Linked DNA regions of Homo sapiens: regions 2 and 3 are each linked to region 1. The links are contacts of gene promoters, found by promoter capture Hi-C in blood cells and fetal thymus (Javierre and others, 2016). All regions are on one chromosome and are shown on one strand. The core of a region is centred on a gene start or on the middle of the fragment in contact, and the rest is flanking DNA. Distances in the headings are between cores, read along the strand shown. Region 1 holds the start of NHEJ1 (non-homologous end joining factor 1). Region 2 holds the start of CFAP65-AS1 (CFAP65 antisense RNA 1). Region 3 holds the start of RESP18 (regulated endocrine specific protein 18).

The links. Contacts are between HindIII fragments. The CHiCAGO score rates a contact against its expected background, and 5 or more counts as called.
Region 2: the fragment with the promoter of CFAP65-AS1 here is called in contact with the fragment with the promoter of NHEJ1 in region 1 in 1 of 17 cell types (M2 macrophages); the score reaches 7.1 in M2 macrophages.
Region 3: a fragment that was not itself captured here is called in contact with the fragment with the promoter of NHEJ1 in region 1 in 12 of 17 cell types (M1 macrophages, erythroblasts, total CD8 T cells and 9 more); the score reaches 7.5 in M1 macrophages.

What each region holds. Positions count from the first base shown.
Region 1 is chr2:219,158,523-219,162,112 of GRCh38, forward strand. NHEJ1 (non-homologous end joining factor 1) reads right to left here and starts at 2,293. Exons shown (of 8, transcript NM_024782.3): 1 at 2,198-2,293. SLC23A3 (solute carrier family 23 member 3) reads right to left here. Exons shown (of 12, transcript NM_001144889.2): 12 at 2,943-3,590. The coding sequence ends at 3,387. RefSeq lists a silencer at 1,958-2,077. The HindIII fragment of the contact is 12,472 bases long and covers 1,528-3,590 here.
Region 2 is chr2:219,000,399-219,004,287 of GRCh38, forward strand. It overlaps CFAP65-AS1 (CFAP65 antisense RNA 1), which reads left to right and starts at 1,817. Exons shown (of 3, transcript NR_046086.1): 1 at 1,817-1,902. CFAP65 (cilia and flagella associated protein 65) reads right to left here. Exons shown (of 35, transcript NM_194302.4): 33 at 3,554-3,889; 34 at 2,737-2,874; 35 at 2,448-2,623. The coding sequence ends at 2,539. MIR375 (microRNA 375) reads right to left here and starts at 1,310; the gene lies at 1,247-1,310. RefSeq lists enhancers at 1-146, 1,589-1,883. The HindIII fragment of the contact is 13,795 bases long and covers 1-3,889 here.
Region 3 is chr2:219,332,682-219,336,581 of GRCh38, forward strand. It overlaps RESP18 (regulated endocrine specific protein 18), which reads right to left and starts at 63. Exons shown (of 6, transcript NM_001441699.1): 1 at 1-63. RefSeq lists an enhancer at 2,042-3,241. The HindIII fragment of the contact is 2,771 bases long and covers 938-3,708 here.

The DNA.
Region 1 (3,590 bases), core at 1,043-3,542:
CTGACTTTACTACCTCCTGGCCACTAAAAGTATATTTAAAATCTTGAGGGTTTTTTTTTTCCCATATTACATTCCTAGAGGACAGAAAATCTTTCTTCCATAGTGTTTAAACCTCAGCATATTGCTGTTAGTATTTCTGCTTTCTAATACTATAACATAACGTGGAAACCTAAACCCTTCTTGTTCCATCTTTATCACATTCCTAATAAATATGTCACTCCTATCCTTTCCCAGAACTAGAAGAGAAGGAATAGTTCTTGTCTTATAAAACATCATAAGTCATAGTGTCAGGGCCAGGAAATTCGAAGTATTTGATCATTATCTAAAAACAAAGTTTAGGAAGCTCTCAGGATTTTTTTAAAAATCCCTAAAACAGGTTCTTAATCTAGAGTCAATGCATGTGAATCCTCTAGAATTATATGAAAATGTTATGTGTACACGCATATATGCATGGGGAGGGGGAAGAGGTCTACAGCTATCATCAAACTCTCAGGGATCGATGACACAAAAAAGAGCTAAGAACCTGTGTCCAGGAGCAACAGAAAAGACCTAAATTTCATTTCAACAAAAACCAGAATGACTAGGAAATCATGAATACAAGGCAGAGCACATCACAGAGGTAAAGACTGAATTAACTTCCACTTAACTCATCCTCCACATTCCCACTCCAGTGCACTGCCACCAATGACAACATGCCCAGCCTGGAACCCCTGCAAAACAACTTTTCTATCTCAGCAGCTAAAGTAGTAGGCTTAACCTAGTAGACAATCAGAACTACGGCTGCTTGACAGAGAATGTGATTGTTTTTCCTGTGGGGGAGAAAAAAATATGTCAATTTCCTTCATTATTCCAGTCTACAAATATAAAATGAACAGAAGTACCAGGAAGGAAAAATTTAGAATGTAAATAATGAAATTCCTTATTAAGTCTGATTAACACAGTCATTTCCCCTAGCTTTTGAAGTGTGCCCTTGTGACTTGTGACATAACTTTATATATATATGCATATATATATGCATATATATATATGCATATATATATGCATATATATATGCATATATATATGCATATATATATATGCATATATATACATATACGTGGTGATCTTTCTTTATGGCATCCTCAAAGCCTTGTGTTTGGAGGATGGTGTTTCCGTCACATTTCCCACATGCTGCTCTTATGGGGACAGAAGTGGTCATGGGATGATTAAGCTAGTCCTAGCCGGACAAGAGCTCCACAATGCCAAAGGTCACAAACGCGAATAAAGTCGCCACTTTCATCTCCCTTATAGGCACTCCCCAGTGTACTCTTAACAGTTGCCAAAATTGGGTTTACTATTCTAGCCCATTCCTTCGGAAAGCCCGGAAGCTCAGAACCCTCAAATTGATGGGTTTTGTTTGTCTGTTGGGTAAAGGGGGAGGAGTTTAAAATGTGGCCAGGAGTAACGGGCCCTATAAAAAGGCCTGACACATTGGGCACCAGACCCCGGCTGCCTGCTCCCACCACACGCGTCCCGTTCTGCGTCCGAAGCTTCTACACTTCATCCTTTTCTTTTTTCCTTCAAGGCTGCCTCTAACATTCACATTAACGAGATTCACGGGTTTATTTCTCTTGAGTGGAGGGGCGCTGAGCGGCATCCCGGCGGAGGGGTCCCTTGAGAACCTTTATCTGCACCGAGTCCGCTCCTCAGCAGTGACCCCTCTGGGCAGTTCCTCCGACGCCCTGCAGAGGGCAGTAGAGGCCCAGAGAGCATCCCGGCTGGGCCCCGCCCGGTCCCCCTGGGACAGCGCGAACCCTAGGTCCCACCACAACCATAGCCCCACCCCAGGAGCCGCCAGGCGTCCCGCTTCCACCCGCCCCAGCTATAACAGCCTTCGCTGTCCGCCTTCCCATTTCTACAGCACTGGCTGCACTGGGGCGCGGCTTCAAGGGGCAACAAAGCCGGCCACCAGCGGCTTCGTCGCACCAAACAGGCGACCAACGAGTACCTTCACTCGAGCCCTACCATCCACGCCGGGCAGCAGCCAGCGGACTGCGCACGCGCGGCCCCGCCCACCCCTCCCCCGGAGGCCTGCCCTGGACCCCGGCAGCGCGCGCTCCCTCCAGGGAGAAAAGGCCAGCGCCAGGGCCAACCCGCAGCGTCTGAGCAGCCCCTCGCTGGCTTGCTCCTGCCCGGACTCGAACGCGATTCCACCTACCGTCAGCGGCCGCGAGAGCGCCCACTCTCTTAGCCGCACGCACGCTTTCCTGCCCGCTCGCGCAAACCGAAAGGCCTAGAGTAAGAGGCCGCTTTCCCCCCACCGCAAGAGGAGGCAGGGTCTTGGGATACAGGGGCGGGGCCTATGCCTGGCGTGGGCGGGGCTTCTGGGCCTGGGACACTGATGAGAGGAGCGCCCCAGTGGCCAGGGTAAGTGGAGGAGAGGCCGGGCAGCCGGCTAGTAGAAGGGTAGTGGCGCGTCTTGGAGTCACGCTGGCCGAGTGGAAAGAATAGCGGGCGAGGCGCAGGAGAGGGGAGCCCAGGTTTGGATTTGTCAAACTTGAGTCACTTCTCTTCCCTCCCCTACCTATCCGGTCTCTTTTTAACAAAATAAGGGATTGAACTTCTGTAGATGATCTCTCAGGTCCTCCACCAGCACTAGAGTTGTTGAAGGAAGGAGTCTCCCAGGCATAAGTCCCATAGTCCGACCTCATCCTTTACCTCTCCTGCTTCATTTCTCCATCATCCCCGTACTTATACTCCCTCACTACTGAGAAATTTGAAACCCCTCACCTATCTTGGACTTTGTACAACCCATGGCTTTGCTCAAGCTGGACCCCGAACCTGAAAACTTCTCTGCATCCATTTTCCAAAACCAAAAATCCTCATTTGTCAAGGCCATCCTCATTGCTTCTTGCATAAAGCCTTTCCCACTGTCCCCAATCAGAATTCATTATCCCTTCCTCTTTGCTCCCACGGCATTATTTTAATCTTTATTACAGACTGCTTTCTGCTTTGCATTTTCGTTAGTAATTACAAAGGTCTTTTTAAACCGTAAATGCCTTGAGACGGCATGGACCCTGTCTTATCCCTGTAGTTCCAGGACCTTGCACATGGGAGATGCTCAGTAAGTATTAAAGTGAATGCTGGGGTTCAAGTGGCATTGATAGTACACAGGCAAAATCTCAATCATTCATGGTCCACTAAATCATGGCCTCTGCTCTGGAACAGTTAGGCCTAATTAAGACAAGGAAAGGCAACCCACCCTATTGGGAAATGGAACCTCTAGACAGTCCCATGTAATACACACACACATATCCTCTGCCTACAAGAAAGAACAGTTTGGGAGCTGACTCTCCAGCAGATGAGAGTTAGGGCTAAATTAACCAGGGCAGAAGTAGGCGTTCTGGTCATTTCTGGGACCTAAACCCTTCTCTGCTAGATTCAGGGCATGGCTCCCCTGAGCCAGGCAGCAAGTCTGCCATCTCTTCTGGCTCAGAGGAGCCTCCTTCCTCATCCCCAGGGTCTTCAGGCAGTGGGCAGAGGCAGTGGAGAGGCTGGGGGATGCAGGGACAGAGGTTTTGGATGGGGAAAGGAAGTCTGTACACTTGAGC
Region 2 (3,889 bases), core at 567-3,066, 160 kb before region 1:
TGTGCAAACCCAGGATGTGGAATCCTGGCCCCTGACATGGTTGGGGAGGGAAGGGGAAGCCCTCAAAGACACAGGGAAGGTGCACCAGGACCATGCCAGGCCCCTGACAGGCAAATCTTTCAGTGCCAGGCAGAGTAAAGGGCTGGCCCAGGACAGAGCCTGGTCAGGGGGGCCAGGAGAGGGCTGCACACACCCTAGCCCAGGACCCAAGGACCTTCCCCTGCCCCTGGGGCTGCTCCACGAAGAGCCCTGCTGTAGTCCACCCTCTCCCTAAACCTGCCTGGGATCTGTCCAACGCCATCTCGCCCCTCCCCCTTCTCTCTCTGTGCCACGGACTCGGGCTCAGCAGATCCTTTGGGGCCTCTGGGTAGTTGGGTGACATAGGGGCACTAGAGCGGGTGGTGGTGGAGGGGACAATCCAGCACCTCTAGGAACATGCAGTTTGGAGGGACTTCTGACCCTGGTTCCCATCTCCCGGGGCTGCCTCTGCCTGAGCTGAGGGCCACCTACCTACCCCACCCCAGCTGATGGAAGCGAGGATGTGGGATTCTGAGGTTTGAGGAAGGTGGTGAACCGCTGTGCCTGGGGGCTTGTCCTTTTCAGTCAGTCTGACTGTCTCAGACGTTTTTAGACTGAAAGAGGGACCAAGGGAGTGTCAGGGAGTGACATCTCAGGATGTCAGCAGCACCACAGAGATCCGAGGAGTGGATTTGAGGCTCCATGGTGGCCCTCAGCTTCCCCCGCCCAGATTTTCCACACCTCAGCCTTGGCTCCAACTCCGTGAGGGCCTGCATCTTCCCCAGCATGACCAGGAGCCCAGGAACCGGGACAGGAGGCTGGGGAGGGCCTAGCCCCTGCGGGAGGCCAGACCAACCGTTCACTGAGCAAATGGGAAAACCAAGAGGCCGGGAAATGACTTGCCCAAGGCCATAGAAGTCGCGGGGACAGAGGCGGACTAGAATCCGGGTTTCCACCTCCAGAAGGGTTTCTGTTCTGGGCCACGGCCCCCTTCGCCACCCGCTGGAGCCGGCTCAGCCCGTATTACGACGCAGAATGGAGCCTGGCAGCCCAGAAGCTGCGGGCAGGGCAAGGCAGGGCGGGTGGGGCCGGATGGGAGCCGGATCTCCCCTGGAGCGGCGCACAGCCTCTCCCACCCGTACGGTTGAGATGGCGGTGGCGGTGGCGGCGGCAGGTGCCTGCGTGGCGATCAGGCCGGCCCCCGGGCTGGTGCTGAGAGGCCGCCCCTGCCTCACGCGAGCCGAACGAACAAAACGCTCAGGTCCGGTTTGTGCGAGGGGCTCGTCGCGGGGCGGGAGCGGAGGGCCCGGGGCCTGGCGGTCGCCCTCGGTGATCTCCTGGTCCTGGTCTTCCGCGAGCTCAGTGCTGCACAGCGCCCCGCTAGCCTCCGCCCTCACCTGAACGCATCTGCGGCTGACACGTCGGCGGCCGCGGCGGCCACCGCAGGTGCGCACCTGGCCCGCCCCTCCTTTCCCAGCCACCCTCCGCCCGGCTTTCCTGGCCCCTCCGCCCGGCCCAGCCTAGCTTGGCTTCGTCCCCAGCCCACGCCTTGGAGCTTGTCCCGGAGCCCGGGCTCCGTGTGCTCTTATACTGCCTGTTCAGTCCCCGCCCCCAGACACACACACTCACACCTGTCCAGGCGCCCGTTTGCTCGGGGCAAATATTGACTCATGGAGGCGGAGCGCTCCCCCCTCCCCCGCCCGGGCTCTGAGACCGGAGCTTCTCCGAGGCCTTGGTGGCGGGGGCGGAGGGGAGGGTGCTGGGGACCCTGGGCGCCTCTGGAACAACACCAGATGTCACTTTTCCACCCACCTGCCTCTGGGAGGGAGGAGCCGAGAAGCAGAGGACAGAAGCTCCCGGGCGGGGGTTAGGAGGAACCGAGAGGTGGGTATCCATCCTCGTCTGAGGACTGATTCACAGTGGGAGTCGCTTAGCAGGGTCTGTGGCCCGAAATCCAGTGGTGACCTCGACCCGCCCCAGCCTAGTTCCTGGCCCTCCGCGGCGTGCCTCAGTTCTTCCTCCCCAGCCTCTTGGGCACTCGGAGCTCGGCAAATGCTAAGGGGCTGGCCCTGGGGGTGCTAAGCCTCCGAGCAGGCGCGGCGCGGAAAGGTGAGGGGTGGCCGCCCTGCCCAGTGGACACCTGCTTCGCTGGCCAGGCCTGGCACTCAGTTACTGTGCACCAAGGTGCGCTGGGGCAAAGGCCAGCCAGGCCCCGTCCGGAGCGCCCTCCACTGGCCAGACCCGGTCCAGCGGCCGGCAGCTAGCGGCCAGGTCTCAGTCCAGCTGCAGTGTGGGCGGAGAGGTGCATCCTCCCGGGCCCTAAGTTCCCGCCGCGCCTCTGCAGTCCGCCCGGGCTGCTCCCTGCCATCCTTCCCTCTCAGAGCTCGCGCGCGCGTTCCCCCTCGTCGGGGAAATAAAGTCAAGGTAGATACAGAAAAAAGACTAGATGCTTTTACTGGCGGTGGAGAGGGGGCCAGGCGTGACCCCTAGCGGCATGTCGGAGAGGCTGGGCGCGGGCATTTACGGAAGGTCGGTAGGAAGTGGCACCACCGGGTGGAGTACCTCTGCTTGCTGCGTCGGCAGCAGCGTGTCCGGGGTCAGACTCCTGGAAGACAAAAAGTCCCAGGTAGGCGTGGGGGCGAGGCTTCGGGCAGAGCCTGGCTGCCCCCGTGGCCCCTCTCGCGCGGTCTGCGCGGCCGCTGGTCCCGGCGCCCTTACCTGGGCACGCAGAACGGCGGCAGGGCGATGACGCGTGGCCGCGAGGTGAGTACCACCTCCCCGCGGCTCGCCTCCACCAGGATGTTCTGGATCATGTTCTCCAGCAGCGCCTCCTGCAGGTTGGCGAAGGCCGGGAGCCTGCGAGGGGGCGGGGGCTAGCATGAGGGCGGCCGCAGTGCCCGCGCGCCTCCTCGCTCGCCTGTCCGTGCGGTACATTGTGCCGCGAGCTCTACGGAGATTCCCATTCGACTCCCCTCATCCACTACACTATGGGGCATTCTTGTTTCAATGTTACGGACGTTCCAAGTGTGGCTAAAAGATTCCAAGTTGCCAAATATGCTGCTGGTTTAAGGGGTGGGATTCAAACCCAGGCGATGTAGTAGGCATCTCAGGGCCAAGTTTAGAGAAAGGTAGGGAAGTGATGAGAGGGCGCAGAAGGGACTGGGTGGGGCCTAGGGAATCCCTACAATGACATAAATCATCTGTAGGGCAGCCCCGGCGGGAAGTCCCACCTGCAAGACAGGTGGTCCTTTTCTGGCTCTAGAAGCCCATTTACAAGACTTTGCAGACTATAACAATTCTCCTGGTAAGTTGGTAAATGTCAACAACTAGTTCTTAGAGAAAAAAGAATAAAGTTCAGTGTTGGTGCCGGGCGGATACTCCCACAGAGGCCTTAAGCTACCAACATGACCTCACTAAGCACTGAATTAGGATGAGATGTGCATACAGGCAGCAGCCATCCTTGGCATCCCACTGCCTCCTAGGAACCTTCTGCACTTCGCCTCCCTCCCGTCCTCACTGGGGCCTGGCTGCTCACCTTCTGATGGCCTCCTTCTCGTCCTGTTCTTGCTCCTCCTTCACCATGACATTCAGCTGCTGTTGCCACTGCCATTGCATGGACTCCTGGGACTCAGGCTGTGGTGTGGGCCCGATGCCCGCCCAGCTCACTTTCTCTTCCTTCTCATCCCTCTCCTCCTCCTTCTCCTCTATCTCCTCCTTGCCCAACTCCTCCTCTTCTGTCTCCTCTTCTTCCTCCTCTTCCTCCTCCAACTCTTCTTCTTCCTCTTCACCCTTCTCCTCCTCCCCCTCTTCCTTCTTTCCCAACCCTGGATAGTGCTCTGGTCTGTCTTCCTTCGGCTGCTTGCCCTTCCCA
Region 3 (3,900 bases), core at 1,073-3,572, 170 kb after region 1:
GCCACGGCCGAGGGGCTGAGCGGGGCTGCAGCTTCCCACCAGCCCGCGACTCCGAATCTGTTTAACCCTCCTCGGCAGTTCAGCCAATCGTGAGCGGGCCCTGCCCCTGCGGTCGCCTCCCCAGCTCCTTCCCCTACCGCCTCCCCACCCTCATCTCTTGGAATTCCTGACCCGGCTCCTTTCGGGCATTAGCTGGGTCCCAAGAACCACCGCCTGTACTCCCAGTCCTAAGGCTGCAGAAACGGATGGCACGTAAGATACGGGTGCAAGTTGTACCTACTCAGGTTTGTTGTGAGAATCAAATATGAACAGCGATGAAACAGTAGGCACTCAAGGAATTTAGTTTATTTTATTATCCTTGACACTCTTTACTCTGGCCCACTTAAAACCCTTTAGAAATCATATAGGTTCGATCTGCTATATATATATATATAATATTATATATTATATATTATATATGGCACATCCATCCACTTTACTCCACATCCACTGCCATCGCCTTGGTCCAAACCACTGCACACTGTACTTTTTTTTTTTTTTTTTTTTGAGACAGTCTTGCAATTTCAGATCACCACAACCTCCGCTCGACCTCTACTCAACCTCAGGCTCCAGAGTAGCTGGGACTACAGGTGCACACTACCATGCCCAGCCAATTTTATTTATTTATTTATTTATTTTTGTAGAGACAGGGTTTTGCCATGTTTCCCAGGCTGATCTCAAACTCCTAGGCTCAAGCAATCCTCCCACCTTGGCCCCCCAAAGTGTTGGCATTACTGGCATGAGCCACCATGCCAGGCCTTGGACACTGTACTCTTTTAAATTGAGTTGTTGTAGTAACTAACTAGCTAACTGACCTCTTGCTTTCACTCTTGTGTACTTACAAGCTAGTTTGTGAGCTTTCTAACTCTTAGACTGGCATTTAAATTTTTTTTCATTAAGCTTAAAACATTTATTAAACTGGGCATGGTGGCTCATGCTTGTAATCTCAGCACTTTGGGAGGTCGAGATAGTGGATTACTTAAACCTAAGGGTTTGTATAGTGAACATTTGGGGTTGATACATTACAAAGGATCTGAATTATATTATTATCTTTAAAGGGTAATAGTTTGAGTTTGTTCTGGCAGGCAATTAAATTTTTGGTAAAAAGTCTTGATCCTGTGGCAGTCTGGTTAGGGAAGGAGTACTTCATCCTATTCTCAATTCTAGCCTGTATCTCTTAGTCCTGGGATATGGTGCTTATGGCTAAGGTGTGGTCCTTTTTGGATTTCAACATAACCCAAAGTCATTTACCAAAACTCTCTATTTTACGGGTCCTGAACTCCAAACTCAGTCACCCTAACACTGTGACAGCTGCCAAAATCTCTGTTCAGATATTTGACTTTTTCACTAGGTTCCTTGAAATCTCACCCTGCGCAAGTGCCATTTAGAAGATAGCTAAGAATTGGAGGGGAGTTAGGATGCAGATTTTGAGTTCCTCTCTCTGTAATTTATTCATTTTCTAAATTTCTTCCTCAATTTCCAGATGCTCTGGCATCTCTGTACTCCAAAAGCTGTTTCCTTAGTAAGACTGCCAGTTGCTGACAGAGCTGTTTCCCTGTGTACTGCAGTGAACTCTGAAGTATCTTCAGAGGAAAAGCCTATACATGTATAAGTCACTTGGTGGACTTCCTTTTTTTGAGGACTATACTCCCTGTAGGTTTCTAACTCTTGATCAGTCTCCATGCTTTCATACAGTTATTTTTATATTTTGCCTAGAGTATATACCCAATGTTAGGAGGATCCGACACAAGTTTCTGTCTTGTCACGCCAAAAACTAGAGGTTTATCTGGTTGTCACTGATTATGTACTGGACATGCTATTTTAAAATAAATTTATAGCAATAATTTGAGGCCTAAGAGCAAATGAACGTGAACCTGCTTTGTGAAGTATAATGCTCCTGGAAAAAGGGAAATATTGGTCTTTGGGTCGGCTGAACAAAGGTGAGTGTGCTCCTCTCTGTATTTTAAGATTTTAAACCACCAGGAGAATGGCTATCAAAATGATAAATGTACAGGAGCATTGATGCTGCTCTTCTTTTTACTGTTCATTGGAAGGGATTCTAATGCTAAGAGTAATACCCTCAGAAGACTTAGCAGGTTTTCAGGCCTATTGAACCAGGGGTTCGTAGGAAGGAACTTTCTTTCCCAAGAAGAAAGAAAGACTACCATAAAGTGTAGCTGGGGAGAGTGGGCGAAGGAAGATTGTAATTCAGCTGTGGTCCTACTCTGTCTTACATTCATGTTACAAATGATGTCCGGAAGGAGAAGGAGATCAGAAGCCTAGGCTCCATGTGTACCAAGGAGTTTTACTATTTCAATCCCCACCCCAAATGTCCTCTCTGTTCTGGCTTTACATATTTTAATTCAGAAGCTCTGGCTGAGGCCCACTGTCTTACTTGCAGACAAGCCTGCTTAAAGAATTTTCATGAAAACTCACTTTAAAAAATCCAGTAGCAAGTTGTCCTAAAACTGCCTCTCTGCAGGGTAATGGGGCTGGGAGAGGAGGAAGGCCTCAATCTGTGACAAAGTTTTGCTCAGAGAAGGAAACAGTTCAAAGAAGCTCTAAAATGGGAGGAAAATCGGATTTGGAATTTGTGTGTATATGTGCCAGGGGCTCCCCCTCCACAGTGTAAGCTCCCCTCACCCCACTATATAAGGGCCTCTAGTTGCAGTCTTGACTTGGGCAAGTCTTGAGGAATAGTGACTCAGCAACCACCTGACAGCTAGCCTCCCCTTGGCTCCGACGTCATGATCTTCTCTCTCTCCCTGATTTTCCCTTAGGTACAGAGCTAGTCAAGGACGCTGAGCCTGCAGAAGAAAGGCAGATTCTTGTTTGCATAATTGGTAGCACCATGACAACCAGTTCTTATTGTGAGGATCAGTCATTTAGTGCTGATGATGCCACTCCAGCGACCAATCCAGGTAGGAGAAGTGTAGCTGCCATGGTGACAGGAATCAAGAAGCAGTTTCCTTGGAAGCATAAGGATCTAGAGCCCCCTGAGGTTCAGGCTGCCTGTTGGGGCAGTGCAGGGCCAGATAGAGGTGCTAGGCTCCTGTGATTGCCTCGCCCAGGCCACCACAGTCTTTCTTGGACCAAGACAACACTTCCTAACTGATCTATTGATTCCACTCTTTCCCCTATCAATATATTCTCAAGTAGCCTTTTAAAATTATATATCACATAATTCTATTCCCTTCCTTAAAATCCCCAGTGATTTTTCCTCTGTACTTTGCATAAGATCTGGACGCTCTACTGTTGCCTACAGAGCTCTGTCTAGGCAATTTTGGACTTATTTCTCCAATCCCATCTCCTATCACTGGTTGTTCTGTTTGTTTTTCTAAAGTGCCATTTGAGAAATGAAAAAATATAATAACTAAAATAAAAACTCACTGGATGAGCTCCAAGCGGGATAGAAATGACAGAAGAGTCAGTCAACTTGAAGATGGGTCAACAGAAATAATCCAATCAGAACAAGAGAGAGAAAAAACATTGGGAAAAAAAAAGTTAACAGAACTTCAGGGACCTGTAGGGCAATATCAAAAGTCCAAAATTAATGTCATTGGAATTCCAGATTAAGAGGATAAAGTGCAGTACACACAAAAATTTTGAAGAAATAATTTCTGAAAAATTCCCAAATGTGTGAAAAGACATAAGCCTAAAGATTAAAGAAGCTTAAGGAATGCCAAATAGAATAAACTCAAAGAAGTCTATACTCTTGACACATTATAATCAAAAATTCTAAACACTGAAACAAAGAAAAAAATCTTAAACAACACACGACTAAAGAACAATGGGATTCAGAAAACTGAATTTTTCATTATAAACCATGTGGGCCAGAAGGAAGTGAAATAACATCTTTAA